Regions from separate parts of the Homo sapiens genome. Here region 2 is linked to region 1. Evidence: promoter capture Hi-C in 16 types of primary human blood cells and fetal thymus (Javierre and others, 2016). All regions are on one chromosome and are shown on one strand. The core of a region is centred on a gene start or on the middle of the fragment in contact, and the rest is flanking DNA. Distances in the headings are between cores, read along the strand shown.

Evidence for each region. The method cuts DNA at HindIII sites, captures the fragments that hold promoters and counts their contacts. A CHiCAGO score of 5 or more calls a contact.
Region 2: the fragment with the promoter of GRM6 here is called in contact with the fragment with the promoter of ZNF454 in region 1 in 17 of 17 cell types (M0 macrophages, naive CD8 T cells, neutrophils and 14 more); the score reaches 13.5 in M0 macrophages.

Annotation. Positions count from the first base shown.
Region 1 is chr5:178,937,901-178,945,279 of GRCh38, forward strand. It overlaps ZNF454 (zinc finger protein 454), which reads left to right and starts at 3,298. Exons shown (of 5, transcript NM_001178089.3): 1 at 3,298-3,544; 2 at 4,785-4,924. The coding sequence starts at 4,892. ZNF454-DT (ZNF454 divergent transcript) reads right to left here and starts at 3,115. Exons shown (of 1, transcript NR_186409.1): 1 at 776-3,115. The HindIII fragment of the contact is 10,957 bases long and covers 1-5,368 here.
Region 2 is chr5:178,992,415-178,999,885 of GRCh38, forward strand. GRM6 (glutamate metabotropic receptor 6) reads right to left here and starts at 2,906. Exons shown (of 11, transcript NM_000843.4): 1 at 2,862-2,906; 2 at 2,027-2,546. The coding sequence starts at 2,530. It also overlaps the pseudogene LOC100288803. The HindIII fragment of the contact is 9,329 bases long and covers 1-5,173 here.

The DNA.
Region 1 (7,379 bases), core at 2,048-4,547:
GTTATTGTGACAAGGATGAGTAAGACCTTGTTCCTACTCATAGTGTAGTTCATTCAAGCAACTAACATTTATTGAGCTCCTAGCATAAGTCAGCTTCTATGAATTCCAGGGTAAATGACGCCTGCTCTCTGCTGTCAAGTAGCTCCTAGCACACAGTGCCATAAGAGTGAACTAGTTGGGTGAACAGAAGACGGGAGGAAATGAGAAGGTGCAGGGAAGAATAGGAGTAATGGCAAGAGAGGCTAAGAGAGCATAGTGTATATTCAGGAAATTCTAAGAGATGTATGATTTAAGCATAGAGTAGAAGTCAAGAAGCAGGAAGAAATGAGGCTAAAGGAAGACCTTATTATATCACGCTTCAAGGGTCCCAACAGGGCTCAGCAAATGGACACCAGGAATTACTGGCACGTAGCCACTGTCCTGGGGAAGCGTAAGCAGACTGGTGATGGAGGTCTTGGTCAAATGTAAGTGTTCATTTGCATATCCATAGTTAATAGAGCAGAAGGGAAAGGGGTTCTCCAGACCACGTTTTAACCTCCTTTCTCCGAGGAGACTGGTTCCTGATGAGAATCCTTGACAGAAGCGGGGGCTTCCTCAGTGAATACTCAGAACAATATAGTGTGTGAGTCCTGGCTAAAGTCAAAGGGTGTGTCAGGCTTCATATCAGAGGTTTCACTGCTTCTCTTCAGCTTGAATAGTTTTGTTTTTTAGTTGGCTGTGGAAGGGCACCTGTTAGGTACTCCTAACAGACTACAGCATCACCAGGACAAATGGGTCAGATAAATGAAGGTTTTATTACTGTTTTCAGTTCTGGAAGACTTGGGCCTTTGTATGTCAGTTCTTTGCCATCTGGGTGACAAGTAATAAGAGCACTTTTGAACCTTCCAACATCAACAGGAGAAGGACTCCTGGTTCCAAGGACATGGGACCTGAGCAAGGCACTTAACAGATGAGTGCCTCAGTTTTCTCATTTATTAATAGGGCAAACCTCAGTTTTTGGTTGCATTAGATAATGTAAAGTGCTTGTAAAAGTGCCCAACATGGCCAGGCGCAGTGGCTCATGCCTGTAATCCCAGCACTTTAGGGGGCCGATGCGGGCGGATCACCTGAAGTCAGGAGTTCAGCCTGACCAACCTGGGGAAACCCCATCTCTACTAAAAGTACAAAATTATCCAGGCGTGATGGCGCATGCATGTAGTCCCAGCTACAGGGGAGGCTGAGGCAGGAGAATTGCTTGAACCCGGGAGGCGGAGCTTGCGGTAAGCCGAGGTCATGCCATTGCACCCCAGCCCGGGCAACAAAAGTGAAACTGTGTCTCAAACAAAAAAACTCCCAACATGTAGTTAGTGCTCAATACATATTATCATTCTTAAATTCCTGAAAACAATAATATCCAAACTCCTGAGCATAGCACCCAAAACCCTTCAATATCTTAGAATCATTAGGCTCTCAAAGCAAATGCCTTGTGGAAAGGTTATATAATTGTGGGAGGCTACTTGTAATTGTGGACTGCTGTCATTGCCTCCTCATTGGTCTTCCTGTATCCCCTCTAGCCCCACCACTGTCTGCCTTCTTTGAAGCTGACCAGTGCGTCTATCAAAACGTGCCCAGCCATGTCACTCTTTCAAATCTAATCATTTCCAGGCACAGAAATAAATCCAAATTTCCTTCCTTCAAGGCCTGTAGTTACTCCTGCAACAGCATCTCGCAGTCTTCCTTGTTCAGTAGGCCCTCGCCAGTCATACTGACCTTGCCAAGCCTGGAGTTCACCAAGCACACTTCTCTCTGGTCAGCATTTCTGTTCCCTCCCTTTAGAAGGCACTTTACCCATACAGTCACATCGTTTCTTCCCTCACTGTATTCAAATCTCTGCTCAGGTGTTACCTCCTCAAAGAGAACTTCCAAAACTGCTGCTTGAAATAATTCCCCGCCCCATCACACCCTAACCCCTAACAGTAGTGTTATCACTACCAGATAAATACTTTCTACTTGTCTGACCCCTCCTCTAGTACAATTAAAACTCCATGAGTGCAGGGTTTTCACAGCTATTTCTCCAGCCCCTGGACTCGGGGTTCTTACTCTCTGGAGCCCAGTTTGAGTGACCTGGAGTCACGAGGGAGGCGAGAGAGAAGGGTTACCAGCGATACTCACACAACATCCTCCCCCTCTGGTGCTTTGCCGGGTCCCTGGGAACTGCTACAGGGGCTGCACAGCGGCTGACCCTGGCCTTGTCAAGCACTTGACACATAAGTGCTCCAAAGTGTCTATGGAATGAAATCTTCAATAAAACTCCAAACAGAATGCTGTAGTCACTGACACTGCTTCCTAAAACGTGGCCAACAATTCCGTATGTGACAAACAGGTCACATTCTTGATTTTTTTTAACGACCAACAAAGTTAAAACCCTCTCATCTTTCCTTCCTGAGCTCCATGCAAATTACCTATTCAAAAGCAACTAAGTATCTCCAGTTGGATATTCTTAGGCATCATCTCATCCTTGCCAGTCTCTGCAAAATATGGTCGACAAAAATAAATACCACCTTCTTAAATACCACCCAGCTGTCCAAGATGGAGACTTCCTGGCATCCAGGCGCCTTCCTCTCCCTCGTCCCCACCTCTGAGAAGTTCCCAAGCACGAAGTGTTCTGCGTCCCGAACATTCCAGGGGCCGCCAGCCACCATGGGCTCTGTCCTGAGGTGCCAAGCAGGACATCCCTGCCCGACATCCTTGTCCTCCCGCACCGCACACGCGTTAGTGGCTGTGGCGTCGCCACCCCAGCACACGCTGGCCCGCCCGCAGTGCCAGGCTGGAAGTGTCGGGCGCTTGCCAGGCCAAGGGGCAATTCTGTTGCCTTCCAGGCCTTTTCGGCGCGGTCCCAGTCAGGAACGCGCCCTGTCGCCTCCCACTCCGTCTTCCGGACCCTCCCGATCCTCTCTCGTCAGCGATCGGGCGTCGCTCCCCTGGACTAACCTCCCTTGCCCCATCTTCAGCTTTTCGCTGATCTGCATCTTCCTGCGCCTTAGTGCAAGGCAGAGACCTGGTTCTAAAGCGAACGGAACGGAACCGATTCTGTAAGTTGCAATGAGCGCGCTGAGGTCGGCGTGGAGGGGTCTCTGGGAAAGGTAGTTTCCGCGCCTAAAGCGCCGGGGCCGGGCCCTGTTCCCGCAGGCGCAAGGCAGCACTGTCTCCGCCGATTGTCCCTCTGGGAAGTGGAGTCTGGCCGGCGGAACTGCAGCAGCCCTGAGACTTGTGGGAATTCGGCCCAAGGGTTCCCAGGGCAACGCGCAAGCGCAGTTCGGCTCCCGGCTGCAGACTCCAGCTCATTGTGTTCTGACTGCGATGTGGCGCTTGCGATCTCTCGCCGCCGGCAGAGGCTCCTCGAAGAGCGACACGGGGCTGACCAGGCACGGTGGTCAAAGCCGCAGAGGGAGAGCGGGAGCGGTCGTGAGGTCGTCTGGGGAGAAGGGCGGAGGCAAAGCCGAGGAGGTGCGGGTTGTGGTCCATTCTGGAGGACGCTGATCGAATGCCCCAAACTTCCCGGAATGTATGTCTGAGATTTGATCCCAGAGAGGGAGGACGGCCAGGGGTGGTCATCCTGGGCTGAGGGTCGAGTCTGTGAGTGCCTGTGGAGGAGATGGAGCCAGGGCCTCTGGCATGTGTCTTGGAGCGGACTCCGAGAAGCCCAGGGTTTCCTCTCAGGTGATAGATACACGCCTGGCGTGGTTCCGAGTCCTGCGCCAGGAACTCGCCAAGGCCGGAGGCAGCCGCTGCGCAGCCCCTGCCACAGCCCCCGAGGGACCTGGCGAAGCGGCAGGGGCGGGACGGGGCTGTGTGTGATTAGGGTTCCTAACCCTTCCCTCTCCCCTCCCGCCCAGCTCACACAAACGCCGCTTCTGCCCACCCGTGACTCCAGGCCACCCAGACTGGGCCCCAGAGAGTGAGAACACTGAGGCCAGAGAAGGGTTTGCCTGAGAGGCTTCGACAGTGAAGAGCCTTCTTAGCCTCCTTTCTGAGGAGGAAGAAGACCACCCTCCTTTTCCTCTTCTCCTGTCACTGCCAGATAAGGCAGCTGTTCCAAAGCCGCAGAGGGAGAGCGGAGCGGTCTTCCAATCCAGTCGAACCCAGACACTGCCCTCCGTTGCCTCTCCCCAGCGCTCCCACCTTTTCGGGTACATCCTGGTGGGTTCTGGAGCTGAATAACTTGTTAAAGAGATAATTCTCGGCCGAGTGCGGCGGCTCACGCCTGTAATCCCAGTACTTTGGGAGGCCGAGGCGAGCCGATCACCTGAGGTCCGGAGTTCGAGACCAGTCCGACCAACATGGTGAAATCCCGGTCTCTACTAAAAATATAAAAAATTAGCCGGGCGTGGTGGCGGGTGCGTGTAATCCCAGCTACTCCGGAGACTGGGGCGGGAGAATCGCTTGAACCCGGAAGGCGGAGGTTGCAGTGAGCCAAGATCGTGCCACTGCACTCCAGCCTAGGTGACAGAGCGAGACTCTGTCTCAAACAAACAAACAAAAAAAGAATTCTCTTGAGATCGCTCAGTGAGGCTGAAGGGAAAGACCAGAGGGTGGGTGGAAGGCATGAGAACTGGACCTGGAGCAGGCTTTCTGCAGGGAAAAGTCAATGTATAGTACCCTCAGAAGGAGGAGAGAGAATGGGGAGCAAACAGGAACCAAAACACTCACTGCTTGGGGTACTGGAGGCCTCCCAGGATGTGAATGCTCACTGCCTCGCTCTGGACTGCTGTATGAGAGCTTTTGACCCAGTTCTCTCCTAATAGCAGGTGTGTGGACCCTTCTAGCCTGAGGAGTCCTGCAGGTGTGAAGCTCCACACCTGCCTCCATAGCACTTTGCCTGTCCCTAAGAGGGCTCATCGGAGAAGAAAGAATGGCTGTCAGCCACCTGCCAACCATGGTCCAGGTGAGTGGGGGTTTCTTCCCCCTAAATTGCTTTCTGGATTTGAAGAGTGTGGCATGTTTGCTTCCTCAGACCGGGAGCTTTATTCCCAATCCAGTCCCACCCAGACACTGACCTCAGTTGCCTCTCCCCAACCAACACCCTCCAACCCCGCCCCATATCCGGCTCATCCTGGTGGGTGTTGCAGCTGTATAACTTGCTAAAGGTCACATAAATGTCACAGCTGGGACTGGAACCCAGGTCCCTGTGAAATCAAAACCTGTACTCTTTTCACTAGCAAGTAAGATTAGGGATCTGAAGTGGTAAAAGCATGTATTAGTCCCTTTTTACATTGCTCTAAATAAATATCTGAGGCTGGGGAATTGATAAGAAGTTTAATTGGCCCACGGTTCTGTAGGCTGTACAGGAAGCATGGTGTCAGCATCCACTTCTGATGAGGACTTTAAAAGCTTCCAATCATGGCAGAAGGTGAAGGGGGAGCAGGTGTATCACACGGTGAGAAAGGGAGCAAGAGAGAGAAGTGGGAGGTCCTAGACTCTTAAACAACTGGATCTCACGTGAACCAACTGAGCGAGAATTCACTCATCACCAAGAGGATGGCACTAAGCCATTCACGAGGGATCTACCCCCATGATCCAACACCTCCCACCAGGCCCCCCCTCCAACATTGGAGGTCACATTTCAACAGGAGAGTTGGAAGGGACATACATCCAAACTATATCAGGGCAGTATCTCACACAGAGCTCAAAGAAGGGCATTGTAGGAACACTTTTCTGGGGAGGTGTGATTTACTAGACTCTTTTTCTTTTATGACATTTGGTTTTTTTACCAATGAAATTATTCAAAAGACTATTCTGCCAAAAAGTCCTATAAATTCCTAAAACGCTTTGAGCAGTCCTAGCATCTTTAGAATAAGAATATGGGCCAGACGCGGTGGCTCACGCCTGTAATCCCAGCACTTTGGGAGGCCAAGGCCAGCGGATCACGAGGTCAGGAGATCGAGACCATCCTGGCTAACACAGTGAAACCCCGTCTCTACTAAAATTACAAAAAAAATTAGCTGGGCGTGGTGGTGGGCGCCTGTAGTCCCAGCTACTCGGGAGGCTGAGGCAGGAGAATGGCGTGAACCCAGGAGGCGGAGCTTGCAGTGAGCCAAGATTGTGCCAGTGCACTCCAGCCTGAGTGACAGAGCGAGACTCCATCTCAAAAATAAAAAATAAAAAAGAATATGGACTGTGCTTTGAAGGAGACAGCATTCATTTGGGCATATACATTCTGATACATTTGGTTAAATTGTTCTAATTCCTTCACATTTAAACCTCCCCAAGGACTGGGATGTGTGGCAGGAATCACTGGAAAGGATGACCAGCTAGGTGGGAGCGCCATGTTCAACATAGCACAGCTCACCGGCTGTTCCCCTCCTCCTCTTGGCTTCTGACTTGTCACTTAGGACCCTTCTCATGCACCACTTTTTCTGCAAAACCTGTCCGCACCCACAGTGCCAGTCTACTGTGATATTTTCCTTCCTTAACCTTTTCCTCAAAGTCACTGTCGGTGTCATACAATTTATCTTGTGTTTATAGGCTGCCTTGATTTGGTTGCCATTCAGCAGACATATGTTAGGGCTGTAAAATGTGCCAGGAATTATGATCTGGGCTACAAATACAAAGTGAACGATAAATGGGCCCTGACAAATTGGTTCATGGCTTCCATCCAAGTGTTTCTTGACTGCCTGTCATGGGCCAAGTCTCTGGGTGCAGGTAACGGAAACCTAATTCAGACTGCCTCAGGCAGAAGCAGGCACTGACTGGAAAGATATGGAGGTGTTCCCCCAAATGCAAAGGCAAAGACACAGCTAGATGTTGACTGTGGAAGTGGGATCTACAATAACCTGAGAGTCCTTTCTCTTGGACCTTTGGTTCCTTCTCTGGGCTTCTGCTTACCTCTTTTTTCTCAGTGAACACCAGCTCCCTTAACTTCTCAGCCAACTGGGAAGACAAGAGCTGTGATAGCTACTGGATTTTACATGCTAGGTTAGGTTTCGGCTACACCTGTGTGTCAGGACAGAGAGACTTTCCTCTGTGACCCCCTCTCAGAGTTTCTAAGAAAGGGACTAGTTCTAATCAGAAGGAACAAGTTTCCTATTGTGCAGAATGACTGGTTCCATGGGACCCATGTGTGTGTATGCACATGTGCACACGTGTGCATGTGTGTGTGTGTGTTGAGGGTGTGTGTCACAGGGTGTGTGTGGGGGTATTTGTGGGGGGGTGTGTGTGTTCGGGTGTGTGTGCGCGCTTGCATGTGTGCGTGTGTGTCGTGTGTGTGTTGAGGGTCTGGGGGATGTGTAGGGCTGTGTCTTTGTATGTGAGTTTGTGTGTATGTGTCTGTGTGTTTGTGTGTGTGTCTCTGTGTGTGTATTTGTATGTTGGGGTATGGGTATGGGTATGTGTTGTGTGTA
Region 2 (7,471 bases), core at 1,656-4,155, 54 kb after region 1:
AGCCCATCCAGCTGCATCTGCCTGTCCTAGTCAGGCCCAGGGCAAAGCACGTTTTCTTGATTCACACCAAGGGGTGGTCCGCAGGGACAGGCAGCCCTAGGAGGGATTAGGGCAGACAGGGGAGCAGCAGGGGATGTTCCATTTAAAGCTGTGTCTGGCCTAGGATGGGGATTGTTGGAAACTGGGTTTCTCTGCATGCATTAGAGTGATTAACAGCAGAGACCAGAGGCTGAACTGACCGGGGAGTGTGGAGGCAGAGACACGGGGCTGAGAAGGCCGCCAAGAGGGGGCTATGGGGCTCCAGCGCAAGAGGGGCTATAGCAGGAGCTGGTGTGAAGGCCAGAGAGGGGGAGTTTCTGGAAGGAGGGAGGGGGGCTGGTCCAGGGTTGTTTGAAGCAGGATAGAAAGTATAGAGACAGCATGAAAAGGAAGCCGGGAGTGGCAGGGAGAGAGAAAGAAAGAGGGAAGGTGGGGCTGGAGAGAAACAAGAAGGAGAGAGGGAGAGAGAGAGAGAGAAACAACTGAGGAGACCGAGAGACGAGAAAGGCCCAGTGGCCACAGCTCAGTGAATAATGCTGTGGTCCTCCCAGCTCTCCTGGACACTTGAGTTTGGGAACAACCCTCCCATGCCCCCTGGACCTCCTGAGGGAAGTTAATTTAAAATGCCTGCCAGCACGGTCATGTGGCTGGGAAATGAATGTAGTTCTTTTAGACCAGGAATTGCAGCATCTTGCCTGTGGCTGTGTTTTGCACAGTTTTTATTAATGTTTGCATTTCTAGCCGGGCAGCACAACCTCAATCTGGGCTGAGCTGGCAGCAGCGGGCCCTGGGCTCACAGAGTCCTGCCCACCTGAGTCCCCAACTGGGCCCCTGAAGGCCTTGGGGTCTGGAATCTCTGCATTCGACCTAGAGGACAGAGACAGAAACTAGAGCTCTAGGCAGGGCCGGGGACACATACAGGTGGGTGAAAAACCCCTGGGCGGCCGCACAGCCTGTCTGGTGCCAGCGTGGAGATGTCACATCAACACTGCCAATCCGAGGAAACAGGGATGGGGGCTTTCATGTGCGCAGACGATAGGGAGCGGCCCCGCACGCCTGGAACAAACACAGACGCTGCGCCCGGGAGTCGGAGAAGCTCTCAGGAAACAGAAGTTCCTCTCCTAGGTAGATGGAAGCCAGGCCTTCCTCCTTCACAGAGAGCCGGATGCACACAGGCCCCTCCCGCCACAGAACCCCAGAAAAACTGTCCCACAACCCCCAGTGAATGACCAAATCGAAAACCCCCAAACTTGTATGCCAAAGCCCTCCTAATCCCGATTCTGCTGGCCCCTAGGACTGCAAGGAACACGCTGCCCCTCACGGGACAGTTCCCTACATTTGAGGACAGAGCAGGGCCAGCCCGGGCACCTGCGCAGGGCAGGGTGCAGGAGACCAGAGCTCAGAAGGGAACGCCCCGCCCTGCTCTCAGATGCCCCTTGAGGGAGAGTTCAAGGCATTTTGAAAATAAATTTAAATGATCAAAAAAGAGAAAGACCAGACCTTTCAGGCCTATCCATCCCCCATAGCAGCCCAGGGACACGCCCCAGTTGCTGCTCTGGAAGAAGGGCCCGGGTTCCAAACAAAACTCAAAGTTGCAATATCACTCGAGCGCTCCGCAGGCCCAGGGGGCAGGAGCACCTTGTATGGTTGCAGGGGTGTGCCCAGAACAAGGGCACCCGAGCAGGCTGGCAAATGGGGGCTGAAGTCAGGCCGCCCTCCCCAGCCAACCGGCCAGAGGCGTAGGTGGCACCCGCCCGGGAAGGGGCGCCCTCGCGGGGCGGGGTAGACATGGGCGGCTGGAGTGTTTGGGTGGAGCCGATTCAGGCCTGCGTCGGGCTCAACTGACAGGGCTTCTTTGACGCTGTGTGAATTCGAGTGATTAAAACGGAGACTCTTTCAGAAGAAGTAAAGGAAGGAGACTTGGGCCACCCCAGGGCGAGGACGGGAGAGGGACGCTGGACACCGAGCCCGGCCCCGCGGCCCTCACCGCAAACAGGCGCAGCACGTTGGCGACCATGATGGAGACGGAGCTGGCCGAGGCGCCCACGACGGCCACGACGCGCTCGGGGGGCGCGGGGCGCAGCGGAGGGACGCCTCCCGGGCAGCGCACGCCCACCTCGTCGCCGTCGCCGCGGCCGCGGATCAGCGCCTGCACGAAGCTCAGCGCCTGCTCCAGCGCGTAGGTGTCCCGCGAGCAGGTGTCCAGCAGCCGCGCGCCCAGGCGCACGCCGGGCAGCAGCTCGGGGTCGGCGTTGACGCGGTCCAGCGCGTACAGCATGGCCTCCAGCCGGTGCACGCCCTGCTCCTTCTTCAGCTGCCCGCACGCCCGGCCCGCCGCGCCCCGCGCGTGCACCGGGAACAGGCCGCCCAGCGTCAGGCCGCCCGCCAGGCGCACAGAGCCCGCCGCGCGCGCCAGGCCCGCCTGCGCCAGCCACGCCAGCGGCAGCAGCGCCACGAGCAGCGGCTCCCGGGCTCTCCGGGGCCGCGCCATCGGCTCGTCTAGCGGGCTGCGGGGAGACAGAGGGGCGGGGAGCGCTCTGAGGGCGGGGGAAGGAGAGCGCGGGCTCGGGGCGCGGGGAGGGACACCGGGGTCCTGGGGAGAAGGCGCTCGGGGCGCGCCTTCCACTTCGGCTCTGGGGAGTTAGCTCAGCCGGCCTGCCCGGGCCTCCGTCTCGCTCTTACAAGCGCCGAACCCTGTCGCCCGGGGTCCCGCCCGACCACTGCCTCCACCCCTCCAGCCCTGCCGCTTCCCGACAGCTTGGCCCCTCTTCCTCGGGGTCCATCCCCAGCGCACACCCAGGCTCCCGCCCCAAGCCAGTCACCTGCGCCAGCCGCTGTCGGTTCAGGACAAGTCTGTGACAGATGCGGCCGAGGCCCTGAGCGAGAGAGGATTTAAGGATTCTAGGGAGGGATGAGAGACCGCTCCGAGGGTGGAGACCCCTCCTGAGTGTGGGGGGTGGCGGTGCTGGCTCTCCCCGCATCTCCTTCCCCTCCCTCTCCCAATCTCTGGGTCTGTTTTCCTGTTTTCTTGTCTTTGGTTTGCGTCTGACTCAGACTGTCTGGCTGTCTCTGGGGCTGTGTCTGACACAATCTCTGTCCATCTCTATCTCAGTCTTCTTCTGCCTCTAGGTCTCTGTTTCTCAGTCTCTGTCCCTGGCTTTCTGCCTCTGTCCTCTTCTTGGAAATCTTTTCTGTCTCTGTCCCTTCCTGTCTCTCCCTGCGGTTATCTCTCTCTGTCCCTGACCCCTTTTCTGTCTCTCTGTCTCTGTCCTGGCCACCAGTGCTCCTGACTGCAGTTGCCTAAGGTATTCCCCAGCTTTCTCCTTGCAGAACCCTGCAGGGGGCAGGGGCTGCCTGAGCTGGGAGGGCCTAAGGAAGAGGAGGAAGAGCGAGGGGCAGGAAGGGGCCAGGAGGGAGAAGCCTTTAGTATTAGCGAACTTACAACACCCTGCAGTCGAGAAACAGCCCTCGAGGAGTGAGTTGAGTTGCCCAAGTGCATGCAGCTGGCATGTGTGGGCATCAGGATTCACACCCAGAATGGCATGAAACAAACAGCCCACACTGCCTTGGATGGAGGGAGGGGAGGGGCCGGCTTTCCTCGCAGCTCCCACTCCCGCCTATTGCTTGGGAGGATGGAACCCCGCGGGGTCGTTCTGGCTCCGTATAAAGTCTCCTCGGGCTCTGGGTCTGAGGCAGCCACTCGAGCTGCGGTGCTCACTGTGCCAACGCTCTCTGCACCTAACTCCCCATCTCATCGTGGAGGCCAAGGTGAGGGGGCTTGGCCAAAAGATGCTTTTATCATCCCCCCATCCGAGGCCCAGGATTTGGCTCTCTGATGCCAAGAGAGCAAAGGGCGTCCTGGAGACAGGTGGTGAGCTCCTAGCCACAGGGATTAGCAGGCTCCTCGTCCGAGGGCCTGAGCCGGCTTGGGCTCCATTAGACAGGCTGGATTAGGGTGGCTGCGGGGATTTGGACAAGGCTGGTAGAGGGAGCAAGCAAGAAACATGCCACCTTTCTCTCTTCCCCCGCCTCTCCCAGGCCCCGATAGTTTCTACTGCCAGAACCACTTCTCCTGGTGGAAGCCCAGAGTCAACAGGCTGGGCCTAGCCCTGCTCCTATCCATTTTAACAGTGGGAAGGGTGGGGAGCTTGGCTGGTGCCAGGCCCTGAGCCTGACATTGCGAAGGACTGCATAAACTGGGTTTGGGAGGTGGATGGGCCCTTCCCTGTTCAGGACGAGCCTGACAGCTCCCAGCACACAGCAGCCTCCTGCTTGGCATGACCAAGGCAGCCACTGCCCCTGTCTGGAGGACAGACCATCAGGAAGCGGGGGCAGCAGCTGGGGGACTGGCAGGGGGTCCTCGCCGTGTAGGAGGGAGGCATGCACACCTGTGAGCAGGGGGCTGGAGGAGAAGGGGAGGGGGGTGGCAGGATTTTAGACCTGATGGAGATTTGGCTCTTGGAGGGGTGGAGGATGGCATAGCTGCTGGGGCATTCCCTGAGAATATGAGGACCAGAGACACAGCTGAGCAGGTCAAGGAGGGCAGAAGCCAAGAGTTCGGGTTTGGGCAGGAAAGTGGAGGCTTCGTGGTTCATGAGCCTGGAACTGAGGGAAGAGGCCAGGGCGGGAGAGAAAGCTGAGGTGGGATCGCCACGGAGGCGTTTAAAGCCGTGGGACGCAGGAGTTCCCTGGGGCTGAGAGTGTGGACAGACAGTGAGGCTGGAGCCCCAGGAACCCCAACATGCAGGTCTGAGCAGAAGTAAGGAGACTGGGAGGGGGTGGCCGAGGAGTTAGAGGAGAAGCAGGAGCGTAGGCACCAGAGGGGCCCAGAAACAAGGATTGAGGAAGGAGGGAACATTCAGCATAATTTATTCAGCCCCGTGCAGGGGCAGAAGGCCAAAGTGCACCTCGCACAGGCCATAGGGCCCTCTTACAGCATCCTGATACAGCTGCTCAGGCTCGATGAGGTAGCACAGAATTTGTACAAAATGCACAGGACGTCATTTAAAAGGTTGCCCCAAGAAGAAGTCCTGCTGTTCCCTGACCCTGGGACTGTTTTCCTCAGCTGGGCTGCTATGGCAGAGTTCCACACAGACAGTCAAAGAACAGAGATTTTTTTTTTTTTATGGTGAAAAGCTTTAATAACAGACAATGTGATTTCATACGCAACCAATCAGCAGATTAACAAATCATTTAACTTTCTTTATATAAAACCAATATTCCACTCAAGAAAGATGAACCAGAATGGATCCTTTTACACTCACCAACCTAACTGAGTACAAATGAAGTCCATGATGTACCCCGTTAGCATGCTACATGTGTGTCAGTAAAACAAGCCCTCCCCCACCCCAAGCCCTGGCCCCCTGGCAAACAGATAAATGACGTGCACTGCGTGATGATACCATAGGTGAGAACTTTGGTTCATGCAGTCAGCTGGCATAGAGGTTGCACCCCAAAACCCCCGCCCTAGCACCCATAGTCAGTCGGTGGTGGGGGCTCATGGTGTCAGCTGTGTTCCTTCCACACCAGGTGAATACTGTGGTCAGGAATACTGGTGGCAAAGGCCAAGCCCGTGTCATTGTGCCCATCTGCTCCATTCAGCCAGGATGCTTCGCCTGCCAGGAAGCTTGAGCCTCTCTTTGATTTCTTGTACTCTGGAAGAGGCCAGCGATTAATGAGGCTCTGGGTCTGCAAGTCCATGATGTACAGGTGGCAGCTGCCAAACAGTAGGGCAACAGTATTTCCAAAGCCAAGCAAGGCCAAGTTTGCTATCTCAGGAGTCTTGATGACCCTGAGAATATCATAACTGTTGGCAAAGTCCCGCTGCTAGAGACGGAGGGCTGAACTACAAACAGTGTATTTGCCATCAACACGAAGTCTTGGCTGCAGGCGGATACTTCTAACCTCAGAGACAAGAGGATGTCTTTAAGCACTTGCAGTTGATTTCTGTCCCAGTTGGCCAAATCTTAATCTCATATTTGTCTGCACTTAAGAGGAGGTATCCTTCAGGACTGTGTGCAAGAGAGACTTGACTTTGCACTTCTGCAGAACTACCTTGGTGACCCATGGCGTGTGCCCAGTGAGTGTGCTCAGGCATGCCCCAGTAGATAAAGTCCATCCTTTCACAGTGAAGGCCGCAGAGCCGCTCACCAAGGTATCATTGTAGTCCACGCTAAACACTGCCCGCGTGTGCCCGCGAAAGTGCCGGATCCTGGCTCCGGAACTCCATTCCCAGCAAGCCACAGTGTCGTCAAAGGAGTCTGTCACAAGCTTCTGTTCATTGAACTTCACCACGGCACAAGTGTGGGTCTGGATGCCACAAACGCACTGCCCTGTGGTCACACCCCATAGCTTTGCAGACCCTGTGGCTGTTTTCCTCAGCTGGGCGGCCATAACAAAGCCCCACAGACAGAGGGTTAAAGAACAGAGATTTGTCTTCCCACTGCTCTGGAGGCTGGGCGTCTGAGATCAGGGTGCCATCGTGGTGGGTTCTGGGGCGGGCCTCTCCCTGGCTTGCAGACCATCCTCTTCTCCTTGCGTCCTCATGTGGCCTTTTCTTGGTGTGTGCAGGAGGAGGGAGAGTCCTCTTGTCCTCTGCTCATGAGGCCACCAGGCCTATCGGATTCGGGCTCCACCCTCGCGACCTCATCTAACCTCATCCCCTGTTACAGCTCCGTCCACTCTTACAGCACTGATATTGCCAGTAGGGCTTCCGCGTAAGAATTTGGGGACATAACTCCCTCCATAGACCCTCTGACTGGGCCTGAGGCATCCAGGGGAAAGAGCAAAGGGCACCCAGTGGGACTATAGGGGGGTGGTTCAGTGCACACTCAGGGCTACAGAGCCCAGGTCTAAATCTTGGCCTGGTCACTTTTTATCAAGGTGACCTTGAGCAAGTCTCTGTACCTTTATTTAGCCTCAGTGTCCGTATCTTTTTTTTTTTTTTTTTTTTTTTTGAGACAGAGTCTCGCTCTGTCGCCCAGGCTGGAGTGCAGTGATGCAACCTCCGCCTCTCCGGTTCAAATGATTCTCCTGCCTCAGCTTCCTGAGTAGCTGGGATTACAGCCACCCGCCACCACACCTGGCTAATTTTTTGTATTTTTAGTAGAGATGGGGTTTCACCGTGTTAGCCAGGATGGTCTCGATCTTCTGACCTCATGATCCGCTTATGAGTGTGGCATAGAAATGCAAGTGGGCCGGGCGCGGTGGTGCGTGCCTGTAATCCCAGCTACTTGGGAGGCTGAGGCAGGAGAATCACTTGAACCCAGAAGGCGGAGGTTGCAGTGAGCCAAGATCACACCACTGCACTGCAGCCCGGGTGACAGAGCGAGACTCTGTCTCAAAACTAACAACAACAACAACGAAATGCATGAAGTGTAGGTTAATTTGGAATCCATAATAAAATAAGTGTCTATCCCTAAATAACCCGTGG